Linked DNA regions of Homo sapiens: region 2 is linked to region 1. Evidence: promoter capture Hi-C in human tissues and cell types (Jung and others, 2019). All regions are on one chromosome and are shown on one strand. The core of a region is centred on a gene start or on the middle of the fragment in contact, and the rest is flanking DNA. Distances in the headings are between cores, read along the strand shown.

Region 1 (7,300 bases), core at 2,155-4,654:
CTCCAGCAGCACTGAAGTGAGACCTTGCTATGCCCGTGTGTTTCTCACCCTCCCTTCCATGGTTTGTATTCTCTTCTCTCTGTGTTTCAGCCTTGGTTTTGTCTGTTGACCTCTTACTCAGTTCACTAACTATCTGTGTCTAAACTATTGCCAAATCTATCTATTGAGTTGTTTATTTAGTTTTTGATACTTTCAGTTCTAGAGTTTCGTTTTATTCTTTTCAAAGGTTACAGGTGTCTGGTGAAATTATCCGTCTTGGTTTTTTTCTCTCGAGCATCGTGATAACAGTTAATTTAAAGCTCATGAATGGCAACGCCAGTCTGGATCTCCTTTAAGTTTGTTTCTTTTTTGTCTTTTTGAATTTGGTCATTTTATCCTGTCCCTAGAATGCCTGGTAATTTTTTCTTGAATGGCAGACAAATGATGCGAATAATCTGAAGCTGTGGGTAATATCCTTTTCTTCTAGAGAAGATTTACCGTTCCTTATGTGGGGCAGCTAGATGAGCAGCTGGTTTCCTTAAGCCAGTCTGTGGCTGATGCGTGTGAACCTGTGGCTGATCCGCGTGAAGCTGGGTTCAGTCTTTGTGAGAATTCTCTATTTCTGATTAATAATTACTCTTAGTGTGTAGTGTTCCTGGGGTCCTAGCTGGAGGTCAGGGTGTTTTTGAGGTCTCTAAACCCAATTTCTTCCCTCCCAGATCTGTGAGATGACAAGAGGCTTCGCTCAGCTTCCCAGCCTCTGGGCCCTGTGCCAGGGATGAGTCAGCAAATGCCTGGAGAGGAAAAGCACCACCCAATGTCCAGCTCAGCCGAGAACACATCCCCGGGTCTCAGACCCTTGAGTCGTGGCTGTTTCCGCATCTTTATAATCACTTATAAAATATTTCATTTTTAGATTTTATCCAATTTCTCCAATTGTTCTTATCATGAAAGTTGTTCTTATACAAACTAGTCCACAGTGGCTGAAATTTTTTTACTTTTTGATATAATTTTGATTTTTAATTGTATGAAACATGTACTGAAGTCCAATTATAAAATAAAGCACACTTACAGATGTGTAGTTTTAGCGAGGAGTGGCGGCTCTTGCCTGTAATCCCAGCACTTTGGGAGGCTGAGGAGGGTGACTGCTTGAAGCCAGAAGTTTGAGACCAGCCTGGGCAACATAGCAAGACTCATCTCTACAAAAAATTAAAGAATCACCCGGGTGTGGTGGCATGCTCCTGGGGTCCTAGCTGCTCAGGGGCTGAGGCAGGAGGATCTCTGGAGCTCAGGAGAGTGCCCTTGCCTCAGGAGTTGGAGGCTGCAGTGAGCCATGTTGGCACTGCTGCACTCCAGCCTGGGCCACAGAGCAAGACCCTGTCTCTTAAAAGAAAAAAAAAACCTAGTTTCTGTCTCTGTCTCGTACACACATTTCTTCCCTCCTGCTATGTGGAACCGTATTTATTAGTTTGCAATTATCCTTTTATAGTTGATTTTGAAAATGTAAAAAACAACCTTGTCCATAGATTTCCTCCTTTCTCACGGCAGAAGCAGCAGGCTGTGTTCTGTTCTGCACCATGCTTTTTCCCTCCTTACCTCCTGAAGATCCCTCCAGTGTAGAAGAAGAAACACTTGATGTTCTTTTTACAGTCGTACGGCACTCTGTTATGTGGATACATTACAGTTTACTCAACCAGTGTGGAGTGACCTTCCAGGTTCTTGTTATAGAGCATTTTAGACACACCTAAAACCTGGAAGCATCGTATAATGAACTTCTCTGCACTCACCACCCGGTGCTGGCAATTGGCAGCTCAGGGTCAACACCGTTCCGTCTACTCCCCACCCACCTCTCCCTCTCCCCTTCACAACTGGATTATCTACAAATAAGTTTCAGAAATCACATAGTTTCCTCAGTAAATACATCAGTAAGTTTCTCTAAAATATCAAGAATAAAACATAATAATAGGATGAGCATTTAAGAAGAATTCTTAACAGAGAAACATCAATAATGACATTTCCTGGACATTTATGTGACAGCTGCTGCTTTCATTTTAGTACAAAAATTAGGGGAGGTTGAAAATTTGAATGTCCTAGACAATAATTTTTTTTTTTGAGACAGGGTCTGGCTCTGTTGCCCAGGCTGAAGTGCAGGGGTGTGATCTCAGCTCACTGCAGCCCTGACCTCATGGGCTTAAATGATCCTCCCACCTCAGCCTCCAGAGTAGCTGGGACCACAGACACGCACCACCGTGCCAGATTAAACATTTTTAAATTAAGATACTCATGTAAAAGACAGTGCTTCTATTTATGCAGGGCAGTTCTCCAAATAAATCAGTTCAGACATCCTAGTAACTTATTTGAGAAAAACGGACATTTCAAAGAGTATCCCCACCTCCCTTAAAATCTGAAAGGACACATAATATGATTGCTGTTAGCAGACTCTTCTCCCTTCTCTACTGTGGGACTCCAAGCCCCAAGTTAGTCTTGATTTAGGCTGTGTCAAGGGGACCAACACTGAATTGAATGTGAGATTCAAATTTTGATTTTCAATGGACTGGATTTTAGAATATATAAATGAGCCTTCGTCTTACCACCCAAAGTCACCAGAAAACTCTTGATCTGCATGAGATGTCATGAAGATGTGGAGAATGAATTGTGATGTCTTATTTAAAAGCAGTGGCTGTACAAAAATAAAAGTGTTTCCTTGTTTGCACATGATCAAAAGTTCCCCCTGAATAATACGATAAAAGGCAATACAAGAGCTGTCAGCAGGCCATGGACATACGCTGCCAGAGTGTAGACAGGAAGCCATGGCCGGCGGAGGTCATGGTGGATTGAGTTCCGGAGGAATCTGAATGGAGGTGGGCTTGAGCTCGGTCTTGGGGAATTAGATAAGGCTGAAGAGTAACAGAGGAAGAAGACAGAGGAAGTGCCGGTGGGGAGAAGTGGCTGGAGAAAAAGTGTGAGTGTGGAAAGCGTTGGGTGCATAGGAGGATAGAGGAGAAGGCCGGTGTGGGAGAGGAGTGGGAGACGCTGCAGGTCCAGTCCTCAAAAGCCAGCCTGCCCCACTCCAGCTGCGAGGTGGCCATTCCCTTCCTCCCTAGTCTACCTCTCTCTGCCCCGGTCTTCCTGTGTCTCCCTCATGGCCTCCTCGCCTGCATGTTCCTCAGACTCCTGCCATAGCTGGAAGCTGGATCAGGAAGAGGGCACACACCAAAAGTGTGGTAGCAAAGACACACAAGGAAGTCGAGATTCAGAAGGAACAAACGCCTCTGGTGTCTGAGCCATGTGGCAAGGGGATTTCAAGCACATTGGCCCCTGAGAAAATGGCCTGCTTCCATGGGACATAAATAGCCACAGAGTGACCATAAAATGCATCCTCCGATGTGAAATGCTCTTGAGAGTAAAAGGCAGTGGCAGCATCAGAACCGTGGACTTCAGCCCCATCCCCAGCAGCCCACGAAGACACTGACCCTGCAGAAACGCCTGTCAGGTTTATGAGGATCCCAACCAGGCCCCCAGGCTCCACCCGACTCTCGTGAAGGTGGGGCTGTTCTTTCCCTCCCACGAGGCTGTAGACCCCTTGAGCAAGGACTGTGTCCAGAGCCCCCCACCCAGTGCTTTGCATGTCACGGGTGATGTAGGCTGACTTAATGGGGGCAGGTGAAGGACAGGTGTGGGGTGCAGCGAGGGCCCAAGGGACAGCTGTGACATGGAGACCCCATGAGGGCCCTGGAGGTCGCTGGGAAGTGCTGATGTGTGTGTGGGGGGGCAATGTAGGGCACCAAGAATGTCCTCCGCATTCCTGTATTCCTCTGCCCTGCGTTCCTCCTCCCCCAGCTGGGTTTCCTCACGCTGTCCCCACTGGCCCTGCTCCTGTTCCTGTCCCCAGGTCCCTCTGTGGGTCTTTTTAATTGTAATCTTGGGAGCACCTCTTCCAGGGCTGGAGTCTGTGGGGTCCCCTGGGAGCTGAGGTCTGAAGTCAGCTTCCCCTCTTCACCCCGTGTCTGGGTTCAGTACCTGTGTGGGCAGTGGGAGGCGGTTCTGCCACCTGGCCAGAGCCAGGGTGTCCTGGAGGCAGGTGGGAATCCTGGGTGGGCTCAGGGCACTGCTCCTGGCTCCACCTCTCCTGCCAGCACCAGCTCCTTCCCTGAGCCTGTTTCTCCCTCTGAGAGGAGGCTGTGGTCTGTGTGAGCCTTGCTCTCTGAGCCTGAGGGGCCACTGGAGGCTGAGGGTGCCGTGGGCTCCACAACCCGATGAGTAGTCGGTGCGGGCTGAGGAAGGAGGTTGGGGCTGCGGCTCCTCCTGTCCCCCGACCCAGTGGGAGCAAACACAGGAGGATGAGTGCATGGCTCTGACGCTAGGAACTCCTCCACAGGTGACTCTGCTGAGTTTGTTCCCCTGCAGGGACCCACCCACAGGTGAGTGAGGGTCTTGTCCTGTCGTCCCCTCTCTCTTCCCTGCAGCTCCTGCTCCCATTGCTGGTTCACGTCCCCATTTATCTTGTTCATCAGCACTTGCTCTTCCTCCTGCTGTCTGCCTCCATCAGGGTGTAACTGTTTCGTGTGGGTGTTTGGAGGGGCATCCGTCTTCTGGTGTGATGTTTCTCCTCACTCTTTCTTCTCGTTCTCTTCCTTTGACCCACCTCTCTCTCTTTCCTTGGTGTCCTACTCCCCTTTTCCCGTCCCCCTCCCTCTGTCTGGGTTGGAGACTGGGCTCTAGGTCCCTGGGGTGGAGGATGGTCCACAGCAGGAAGACAAGGACAGATGTGTGGGGAGTGCGAAGGTGAAGGAGCAGGAAGGAGGGGGCTGATGTGGGACGGGGTCCTCCCGTGCCGGGGAGAATATTGCAGAGATGCAGTGGCTTCTTCTATGTTGTGGTTTCTAGGAAGAAAAGTGAAGCCATTAACTAAACACCCAACGGAAAGGTCTGAAATTAGAGAGCAGGAAGATAAGCCAGTGAGAGGCAAGAATAAATTCTGTTGTGTTTCATAATACAATTTTTTTTTTCTGAGACAGGATCTTGCCGTCTGTGTCCTGAGAGGCACAAGTGGCTGGTGCCTCTGAACATGGTGGTAAGGCTGGGAGACCGTTCTTCTGCTGGGGCATCTGGTGTATTTTGCTGGTTGATATGGCTGAGAGGGTGCTTGGTCGCTGTGGGAACAGATTTGCTCCTGTAGAAACCCCCTCCAAATCACACAATGTCATAGCTCTATCATTCAGGCTGGAGTGCAGTGGTGTGATCGTAGCTCACTGCAGCCTCAAATTCCTAGGCTCAAGTGATCTGCCTCAGTCTTCCAAGTAACTGGAACTACAGGTGCACACCACCACGCCCAGGTAATGTTTTATTTTATTTTTATTTTGGAGACAAAGCTCGCTCTGTCACCCAGGCTGGAGTGCAGTGGCGTGAACATAGATCACTGCCAGCTTGAACTTTCAGGCTCAAACGATCCTTCCACCTCAGCCACCTGAGTAGCTGGGACTACAGATGTGTGCCACAATAGCCTGGCTAATTTTCTCTGTTTTTTGAATAGAGATGAGGTCTCGTTTATGTTGCCCAGGCTGGTCTCAAACTCCTACCTCGAGCTATCCTTCTGCCTCAGCCTTTCAAAGTTTTGGAATTACAGGTGTGAGCCAGGGTACTTGGCCAACAAAATTTTTATGCATTCAACAAATATTGACTGAGCTCATAACAGATGTGCCAGACCCTGTTCCGGGAGCCAGGGATCCCACCACGAGCACCCGTGGCACCGGGGAACACGGGTTCTAGTTGGGAAAGCAGAGAACAGACACCCACATGAGCAGCCTGGGGCCTGCCTTGCATATATGCCTGCTGTGGGAACCAAGGCAGGGAAGGGAGGCAGAAGAAGAAGGATTTCAGCTCTAAATGGGTGCTGAGGGAAGGCTTTGCTGAGAAGGCGAGGAGGAGGTGAGGGAGCAAGGCAGGGCCAGTCTGGGAAGAGCCTTCTGCACGGAGGTGAGAGAAAGTGTCCAGGCCCCCTGGAGCTGGCCTTGTCCTGCCGTGTGGGAGCAGCTCCAGGAGGCAGGGAGACCGGCATGGAGGGAATCCCGGGAGAGTGGAAGGAAAGGCGTGGGTGGTGGTGGAGGGCTGCTGATGAGTCTTGCATTTCCTCTGGAAGTACTTTGGCTTTATTCCTGCAGAGATGGGTCCACCCCAGGACTACGTGACAAATAGACCAGGTTGGGCTGGGGTGTGCCAGCGTAGACTGGGAGGCAAATGCAGTTGGGGCCGTTGCCATCCTCCAGGGACACTCTAGAGGTGGTGTGGCCAGGTGGGAGCTGGCAGGGATGCGTGCTGGCTGGGGGGTATGTTTTGCAAGGGGAGCCAGCAGGGGTTTCTGATGTTTGGGGCGTGTGTGTGTGTGTGTGTGTGTGTGTGTGAGGAGAGGACAGGAGTCCAGGATGATGCGAGTGTTGTGACCTGTCAATCTGGACAGATCTGCCACTCACTGAGCTGAGAGCGGGAGAACAGGCGTTTCTCCAGGGGAGAGCAGGTGGTCTGTTTGGCCACTTCGGGTGGAACAAGCCCGTGACACAGCTGAGGGGAGAGGTTGAGTGCACAGTGGGTGTAAGAGTCTGAGTGCAAAGGAACCATGCAGGATGGAGGGAGAAGTGGCATCAGTCAACCATGCAGTATTGTAGTTTAAGAGACTGGGGGAGGGGGGAGTGGGACGTGCATGTCCTGGGAGGTGCCTGTGGCTGGTGCCTCTGGACACGGTGGTAGGGCTGGGCATCCCTTCTTCTGCTGGGGGATCTGGGGGAACCTGGTTTGTTTCGCTGCTGGGTGGAACCTGCGGCTGGTGTGGCTGAGATGGTGCTTGGTCGCTGTGGGAATAGATCTCTCCTGTAGAAATCCCCTCCACATCACTCCAGGGGTCATCAGTGGCAAGGACCCCGGGAACTCCCTCCTGGGCATGAACCAGGACAAGCTCCCTGACCTAGGGCCACAGATCAAGCAGCCATCTCCAGGGTCCTGGGCCTGGGCAGGCCCATCCCAGTTTAGGAAATTCCCCGGGGTCCTGGCACAGAGAGCGTGGTGTCCCGTGGAGCAGCCTCATTTAACGCTGCAGTGAGGTAAGGTGGACGTGAATGCACCTGCACGCAGAGGCCTTACAGATAAACAGCCGCCCATGTGTGGAGCAGGTCCTCGTCTTTGTAAGCATCTGAAGATGTTTCTTCCATTTTCACTCACTGTCCCTGGTAGAAAAGAATCACACAGCAAACTCCTGTGACACTCAGACCAAGGCCAATGAAGCAGGAGCCTTTCTGCAGAAAATGGAAATTGCAGCCACATGTCACTC
Region 2 (7,300 bases), core at 3,371-5,870, 270 kb after region 1:
TGACTTCTTTTTTCTTTGTTTAATCCAGCTGCAATGGGAAATAATAGTACTGATGAGTAACAACCTTGTCTAGTTCTTTACTCTGATTGTTTCCAGTGTTTACCTATTAAGCTTATTAGTGTTTCTAATTCCCTATTGTTCTTATTTTAAGACTCTTAAAAATGTCTGTCTATTGAACCAGTGATTCCTCTTCTTGTCAATTATTCCAAGGAAAATACGATGAAAGCGTTCTGCACGCTACTATCTAAAACAGCACTGATTTATTTTTTAAAAAAGACATACTTAGAAAAAACCTCTGTGAGTTATACAGAATAGTTAAGGAGACTGTAGTTTAATGGAATATCACAGAGAGTAAAAACATGAAAAATGCTAATGTATAATATTATTTGTAAAAATGCTATATAAAAATACAGATATAGTATGATTATGACACTATCTGAAAAACACTCACAAACTGGTGATAGAAAAAAGTTTACTAAGTTTACTAAGTAAGTTTACTAAGTTTACTAAAGTTTACTAAGTAAGAAAATTTACTAAATTATGGGCTGGGTGTGGTGGCACATGCTTGTAATCCCAGCACTTTGGGAGGCTGAGGCAGGGGGATCATTTGAGCTCAGTAGTTCAAGACCAGCCTGGGCAACATAGTAAGACCTTGTCTCTATTTTTTTTAAAAAAAGGAAAGTTTAGGCCGGGCGCGGTGGCTCACGCCTGTAATCCCAGCACTTTGGGAGGCCGAGGTAGGTGAGTCACCCAAGGTCAGGAGTTTGAGACCAGCCTGGCCAACATGATGAAACCCCATCTCTACTAAAAATACAAAAACTTAGCTGGGCATGGTGGTGTGCGCCTGTAATCCCAGCTACTCAGGAGGCTGAGGCAGGAGAATCCCTTGAACCTGGGAGGGGGAGGTTGCAGTGAACTGAGATCGTGCCACTGCATTCCAGTCTGGGCAACAAGACCAAAAACTAGTTTACTAAATTAAGAATAATTTTTCTGTTTTCCAGATTTAACATAATGAACTGATATTATGGTACAGTGGGAGGAGAGATTTTATTTTAAAATAAATTTGCCATTGGGCATGGTGGTTCACACCTGTAATCTCAGTACTTTTGGAAGCCAAGGTGGGAGGATCACTTGAGGCCCAGGAATTTGAGACCAGCCTGGTCAACACAGCAAGACCCTACCGCTGCAAAAAAAATTAAAAAATTAATCTGAGGCCGGGAGCAGTGGCTCACGCCTGTAATCCCAGCACTTTGGGAGGCCAAGGTGGGCGGATCACCTGAGGTCAGGAGTTTGAGACCAGCCTGGCCAACATGGTGAAATCTTGTCTCTACCAAAATACAAAAATTAGCCTGGTGTGGTGGCATGTGCCTATAATCCCAGCTACGTGGGAGGCTGAGACAGGAGAATCGCTTGAACCTGGGAAGCAGAGGTTGCAGTGAGTCGAGGTCGTGCCACTGTACTCCAGCCTGGAGGACACAGTGAGACTCCATCTACAAAAAAAAAAAAATATTTAATCTGGATCTAGTGGTTCACACCTATAGTCCTAGCTACTCAGGAGGCTGAAGCAGGAGGACTGCTTGAGCCCAGGAGACTGAGGTTGCAGTGAGCTATGTGATCACACCACTGCGCTCCATCCTGGGTGACAGAGCAAGATGCTGTCTCTAAAAAAAACAAAAATAAATCTGTGACCAAATTCAATGGCTAAACACAGAGTTGGAATTAAGCCCTATGGGCTTAGCTCAACATTAATTTGTACTTAAACCACTCCAAAGGGAGGTAGATGAGCCAGCAAAGCAAGAGCAAACCCAGACAACCTCACTGCTGCACCTATTGGCCTCCTAGAGCAGTGCTGTTCAATGGAAATGTACTGTGAGCCATGTATGTGACTTCTGATCTTCTAGATGCATTTAAAGTAAAAAGAAACAGGTAAAATTCATTGCAACCATGTATTTGATCTACCCCAATATAGTCAAAATATTATTTCAGCATGTAATCAACATTAAAAATTATTAATAAGATAGTTTACATTCTCTTTTCCTAAGTCTTAGAAATGTGGTGTGGATTTTACATTTACAGCACATCTCAATTCAGACTACCATAAGCTACATGTGAATAATGACTGCCCTACTGAACTCAGCTCTGATGTGTAGATATCTCTAAAAGTGTTAGAAAGGCAAGCATGTGTCTGTGTCTGTGTCTGTGTCTGTTGTCTGTGTGTGTTATGTAGACACAGGCCAAATGAAAGGTGCCTGCAATATAACAAGGCTCAAGGAGGAAAAGCCGTCATCTAAAATCAAAAGGATCCGACAGGCACGGTGGCTCACGCCTGAATTCTAACACTTTCAGAGGCCAAGACAGACGGATCACTTGAGCCCAGCAGTTCAAGGCCAGCCTGGGCAACATAGTGAGGCCCCATCTCTACAAAAAAGACAAAAATTAGTGGGGCTGTTGTGGCATGCACTTGTAGTCCCAGCTACTTGGGAGGCTGTGGTGGGAGGATCCCTTGAACCTGGGAGATCGAGGCTGCAGGGAGCCATAATCATGCCACCCTGACTCCAGCCTGGGCAACAAAGTGAGAGCTTGTCTCAAAACAAATAAATAATAAGATAAAATAAAAAGCATCTGACTCAAGATGATTTATGTGGGTTTCCCATAATCCCTTCCACACACACACCACCTTTCATTGAGCGAAGTGTTCCAACCCAGATATGAATATTTTTCTATCTTGCTGCCTAGAGGTAAAAACCCAGTCTTTGCCTACCATGAACCTTTAAGGGCAGCTTTAATTCTGGAGGCCTGTGAGGACCACCTGAAGCTCCTTCTAGAGCTGTGCTATCCAATAAGGTGGCCATTAGCCACATGTGGCTATTTACATTAAATGTAATTAAAAATTCAGATCCTCAGCAGCACTACCCACATTTCAAGTGCTCAACAGCTGCATGTGTCTCACTATCCTTTGGGGGCAGCTCTAACTCCCAATCCTCTGCTCGCTCTGGGGCTCTCACCTAAAGCTGCAGACCTGGGCCTGGGGCTCTGCTCCTCCTTAGGAGTCGCTGCTGCCTGCTAACTCGCCCAGACGTTCTTCGAGGTGGGTGGGGTTGTGGCGTGAAGCCCAAATGCCGTCAAGGGTCTTATTGCTACAATGAAACGCCCATTCCCTCTACTTGAGTGAACACAGTGTCTCAGCACCCACATGTATAAAAATGAAAAATAGGCGTCGAGCTGATGCCAAACACCGGCTCACCCCAGCAATATGTAAAATTCATTCAAATAATATAAATAATTTGAGCTGTAAAACAAAATCCATCTCATTACAAGTTGTGCTTCCAAAGCACTTCACTTTTTGTCTAAGAATTAACAGTAAACATTTTGAAATATTTATATAATTTTGCTAATAATCCAGAAAATAACACTAAGAAAAAATGTAATCTACTTTCGTTACGGACATATATGCTAGGATAAACAATAAACAATAAAACAATGCATAGAACTATTTTACACTAGGATAAAATTCAATGAGGCACATAGAATGAAAATATTTTTACAGTAGAATAAAAAGCCGGTGAGGGACATAAAAGTTCAAGGAAAAAAACCCTAAAAGATGTAAAACTTATGACTGTTAAAAGTGGATAATACCAAATCTTCAGGGATTTAGATTCCATTGGATACACTTGAAAGCAATTTTGTTCTTAATATTAACAGCATGCCAAAAATATACCCTTTGCAATTATTTAAACTTAATATGAAAAATATTTAGATGTTGCTGTTTTTAAAAAAGGCTGACTATAGCCAATAACTTAGTTGTATATTTAAAAATAAGAATATAATTTGATTGCTTGTAACACAAAGGATAAATGCTTGAAGTGATGGACACGCCATTAACCCTGATATGATTATTACGCATTGCATTCCTGTCTGTATCAAGATATCTCACGTACTCGACAAATAGGGACACCTACTATGTACCCACAAACATTAATTTAAAAAAAAAAAAAAGGTCTTCAAAGTCATTTTAGGCCCTGGGTTTGGAAGCCGACACCGGCGGTGGGGTGGGCAGGGGGCGAGGTCGCTGCCAAGCTGGCGCCCCGGGTGGGAGCGTGGCCCGGTCCCAGGGACGGCTCCAGGGGCGCGCTCCCACTCCGCATCCCCAGTGCCTAACCGGGGGCGCTTCTGGTGCTGACGACCAGGAAGGGCTGGTGCTCTCGGGCCAGCCCCCAACCAGCTGAGAAGGCAATGGGTCCCCAGCCCAGCGCTGTCCTGCGCCCCTCCCGGATTCCCCCATTTCCCGCCAGGCCCCCACTTCCGGGAACGTCCCCGCACCCACACCTGGCAATGAATCACGTGTTCAGGAACCAGGTAGGCAGGTATTTACTTTATTACCTGTGCCCCTCCCCCAGCCTACCCCAGAAGCTAATGGGCACGGAAACAGAAAGCCCCGCCCACGGCCTCCTGGCCGCGCCTGGAGCGCGCGCCCTGCAGCTGGTCCTCAATAAATAGCCGAGGAGGCGCTCCCCTCCCTCCCTCCCGCCGGCGCCGTCGGCCCGGACCATCGAGTCAGTCCTCCAGCGTCCCAGAGAGGGCGCGGAAGTGCCCCAGGGCCGGCGCGGGTTCTTCCGGCCGTGCGGTCCGCGCTTTTGTCCCGCTGGCGGCCGGGTTCCCGCGGCGCCGCCACAGCCAGTACGTGAGTCCGCGGCCGCCCGCGCTCCCGCCCCCGGCCCTTGCCTGCCACGCCCTCCCCTTTTTGGCCGGGTCTTGGCTGCTCCGCGGGTCTCGGGCGGGATGTGGGAGTAAGCGTGCCCCCTCCCCGCACATGTCTCAGTGGGTGCGTTTCTGGGGAGCGGAGGGGAGGGAAGACCTCGGGCAGGCAGAGGGGTGCAGGGCGCGCCCCTGGAACAGACTGGGCTCTGTGTGGGCCACAACTGCGACGTTTGAACGGACCAGCGTCATGTTAGGTCTGCTCAACGTTCCGAGAAGGGCCAGGGCCCCGCTCCGGTGTTCCTCAACTATTCATCCCTGTTTTGGATGGGAGGGGATCCCTAAAAATTAGCGCTTCAAAATACCCACCATTTCGTGCTCCCTCTGCAGTTAAGTTTGGTACTCTAGGACTTGAGAGTGATTGCGAGGGCAGAGAGACCTCTAGGGGTGATCTGATTCGACCTTCTTCCCCTCCGCTCCACCCCACCACCTTTTTTTCTTTTTTTTTTTTGGTCGGTGAGTGATGATGATAAGCTCCCGCTGCAGGTGTGAATAGAGACCCCGGAGGTGCGTCCTAGCCCTCATCTGGGGAAGCGCACCTGCATACAGACGGGTGCACCGGGGAGGAGGCGACCTGCCGCGTGTTCCTGCAAGCAGAAAAGGAGTTAACTAGGTAGGGAGAGGAAGGTCGAAGAGTTTCTTAGACCCAGGGGACAGCCTGCGGGAACCCAGGGGTGGGACGGAAAAGATCACTGGGGAATGCCAGGGCTGGGTGTGCTGCTCTAAGACATTTAAAGTAGTTGGCCAGCAGGAGCATTTCTTTGTGAAAGCTCAAGGCTTAAAAAAAATAATAATATGAAATATGTAATATATTCATATGGCTGGGATATTAAAAATATAAAAAGTTACCAGTGAAAGATTTCTTCCCATCCCGCTTAGGTATCTTCCTAGGCCCTACCCTCTTAGGTAACCACTTTTGTTCCTTTGTATCTTTTCCGAATTTCTGCAAATACTGGCAAATATAACTAGTTAGTTCCCCCTTTTTTCACACAGGTGATAGAAATCCTTCTAACTCCTTGATTCTTTCACTTTATCTTACTGGTCTCTACATGTCAGAACACAGAAGTTGTGTTTTGTTTCGTTTTGTTTTACAGAGCTGTGGTAAGTATTGGATGGGCCATTGTTTGGATGTTTTCGATGTTCTGTCCTTTTTTAGATCTATTCGGGGGCATTTGGGTTGTCTCCAATTTGTTGTTACTTCAAACAATGGTATACTCAATACAGTGTATTAGGGTAGGGATTTTTACAGAAGAAACTAAACAGCCGTTAGAAAATTATTTTTTTACATTAACTCAACCAGTTATTGGCAGATTGTTACATATGACAAGTCGTTATCAAAATCACTGATGTAGAGTGTTTAAAGAACAAATAAGACGTAAGTAGTTCTTCCCTTCTGAGACTTGTCCCTATATTTAGTGTTACACTAGCCTAATAGACTAATTGTGTCAATGACTCCAAGCCAGTCCCTGCCGGGTTTGATTCAGAAAATCAGCCTCCCTTTTAGTATCGCCTTTGCTCACCTCCTCCCCTACGACAACTAGAAATCTCTTCTCCACTACTTGGCATGAGAATGTTCTATTTCAGTTTTTTACTTTAAGGAAAAATCACCTTTCATTCTTATTTCTATATTTAAGCAATAGAACCAACTCACGTTAATCATATACATTCCTAATATTCATAAGACAAATGCAACAGTAGCTAGAACACAAACCATATTCTCTTCTCATCTGCATATCACTTCTCTGTTCCTTAGTCCCATCTTTCCTTTGTACATTTTGCCCCTCCTAGGTACTCTTTGTTCTGGGTTGGTAAGCATTTTGTCACTTTCTCTTGTCTTGTTTCCTTTCTTTGCTCATCTCCAAATCAAAGACAGTATCCAAGGATTTAAGGTGTAGAATCCACGCGTGAACCTTGAGGTGGTAGATTGTCTTGTGGAATATGGTTGGACTCTGCAAATTGAAAGTCGTTCCGGGCTAGTTGCAGTCTGTTAATAGGAAGGGGTTTTCGGCCAGAGCAGGCCACGGCTCCTCTCTAACGAGTTGTCTCGGCTCTTGAAAAGTGGCTCCTGAGTCTCGGAGGCAGAGACAGCAAGAATGTAGGGCCGGTTCTTAACTGTTTGCATTCACTTTTCTAGGCCTTGGCGATAAAGCATGAACAAGAAGCTCGGAAGAGTGCCCAGAGGTTGTTGGTCGTATGTAGTTTGGAAGGAGTGGGTGGCGTTCTATGTCTGACGCTTTTGGCTGATGTAACCAGGCTATTAGACTCATGCTGCGTGTTGAAAACTGGTTAGAAAGGGCTTGTCCATTCAGCCTTTAGAACTTTTAAGAAATTCAGGAGTTTCTGGGTCTTTATATGGAAGAGTTGTGTTTTGGGGGTAATTCCTTACTTGTGTCATCAGGGACACATGACTTAGCTACCAAATCAGTCTTGATTGGATTATAGTGACTTACTCCTGGAACTCCAGGACTCAGTCCTGTCTTGCCTCAATCCATTCTCCCACTGCAACTAGTGTGAGTGATCTTTCTTTTTTTTTGAGACAGAGTCT

Evidence for each region. Contacts are between HindIII fragments. The study calls those that stand out against the background at their distance.
Region 2: a contact is called between the fragment with the promoter of ZFP62 here and the fragment with the promoter of OR2V1 in region 1, in 1 of the 25 tissues and cell types used here (heart left ventricle).

The regions. Positions count from the first base shown.
Region 1 is chr5:181,127,273-181,134,572 of GRCh38, reverse strand. It overlaps OR2V1 (olfactory receptor family 2 subfamily V member 1), which reads left to right and starts at 3,404. Exons shown (of 4, transcript NM_001258283.2): 1 at 3,404-3,523; 2 at 4,358-4,400; 3 at 4,998-5,053. RefSeq lists an enhancer at 4,117-4,618. The HindIII fragment of the contact is 10,189 bases long and covers 1,849-7,300 here.
Region 2 is chr5:180,858,596-180,865,895 of GRCh38, reverse strand. ZFP62 (ZFP62 zinc finger protein) reads left to right here and starts at 4,620. Exons shown (of 2, transcript NM_001172638.2): 1 at 4,620-4,677. The coding sequence starts at 4,677. RefSeq lists enhancers at 3,577-4,483, 4,961-5,040 and a silencer at 4,411-4,860. The HindIII fragment of the contact is 15,115 bases long and covers 1-7,300 here.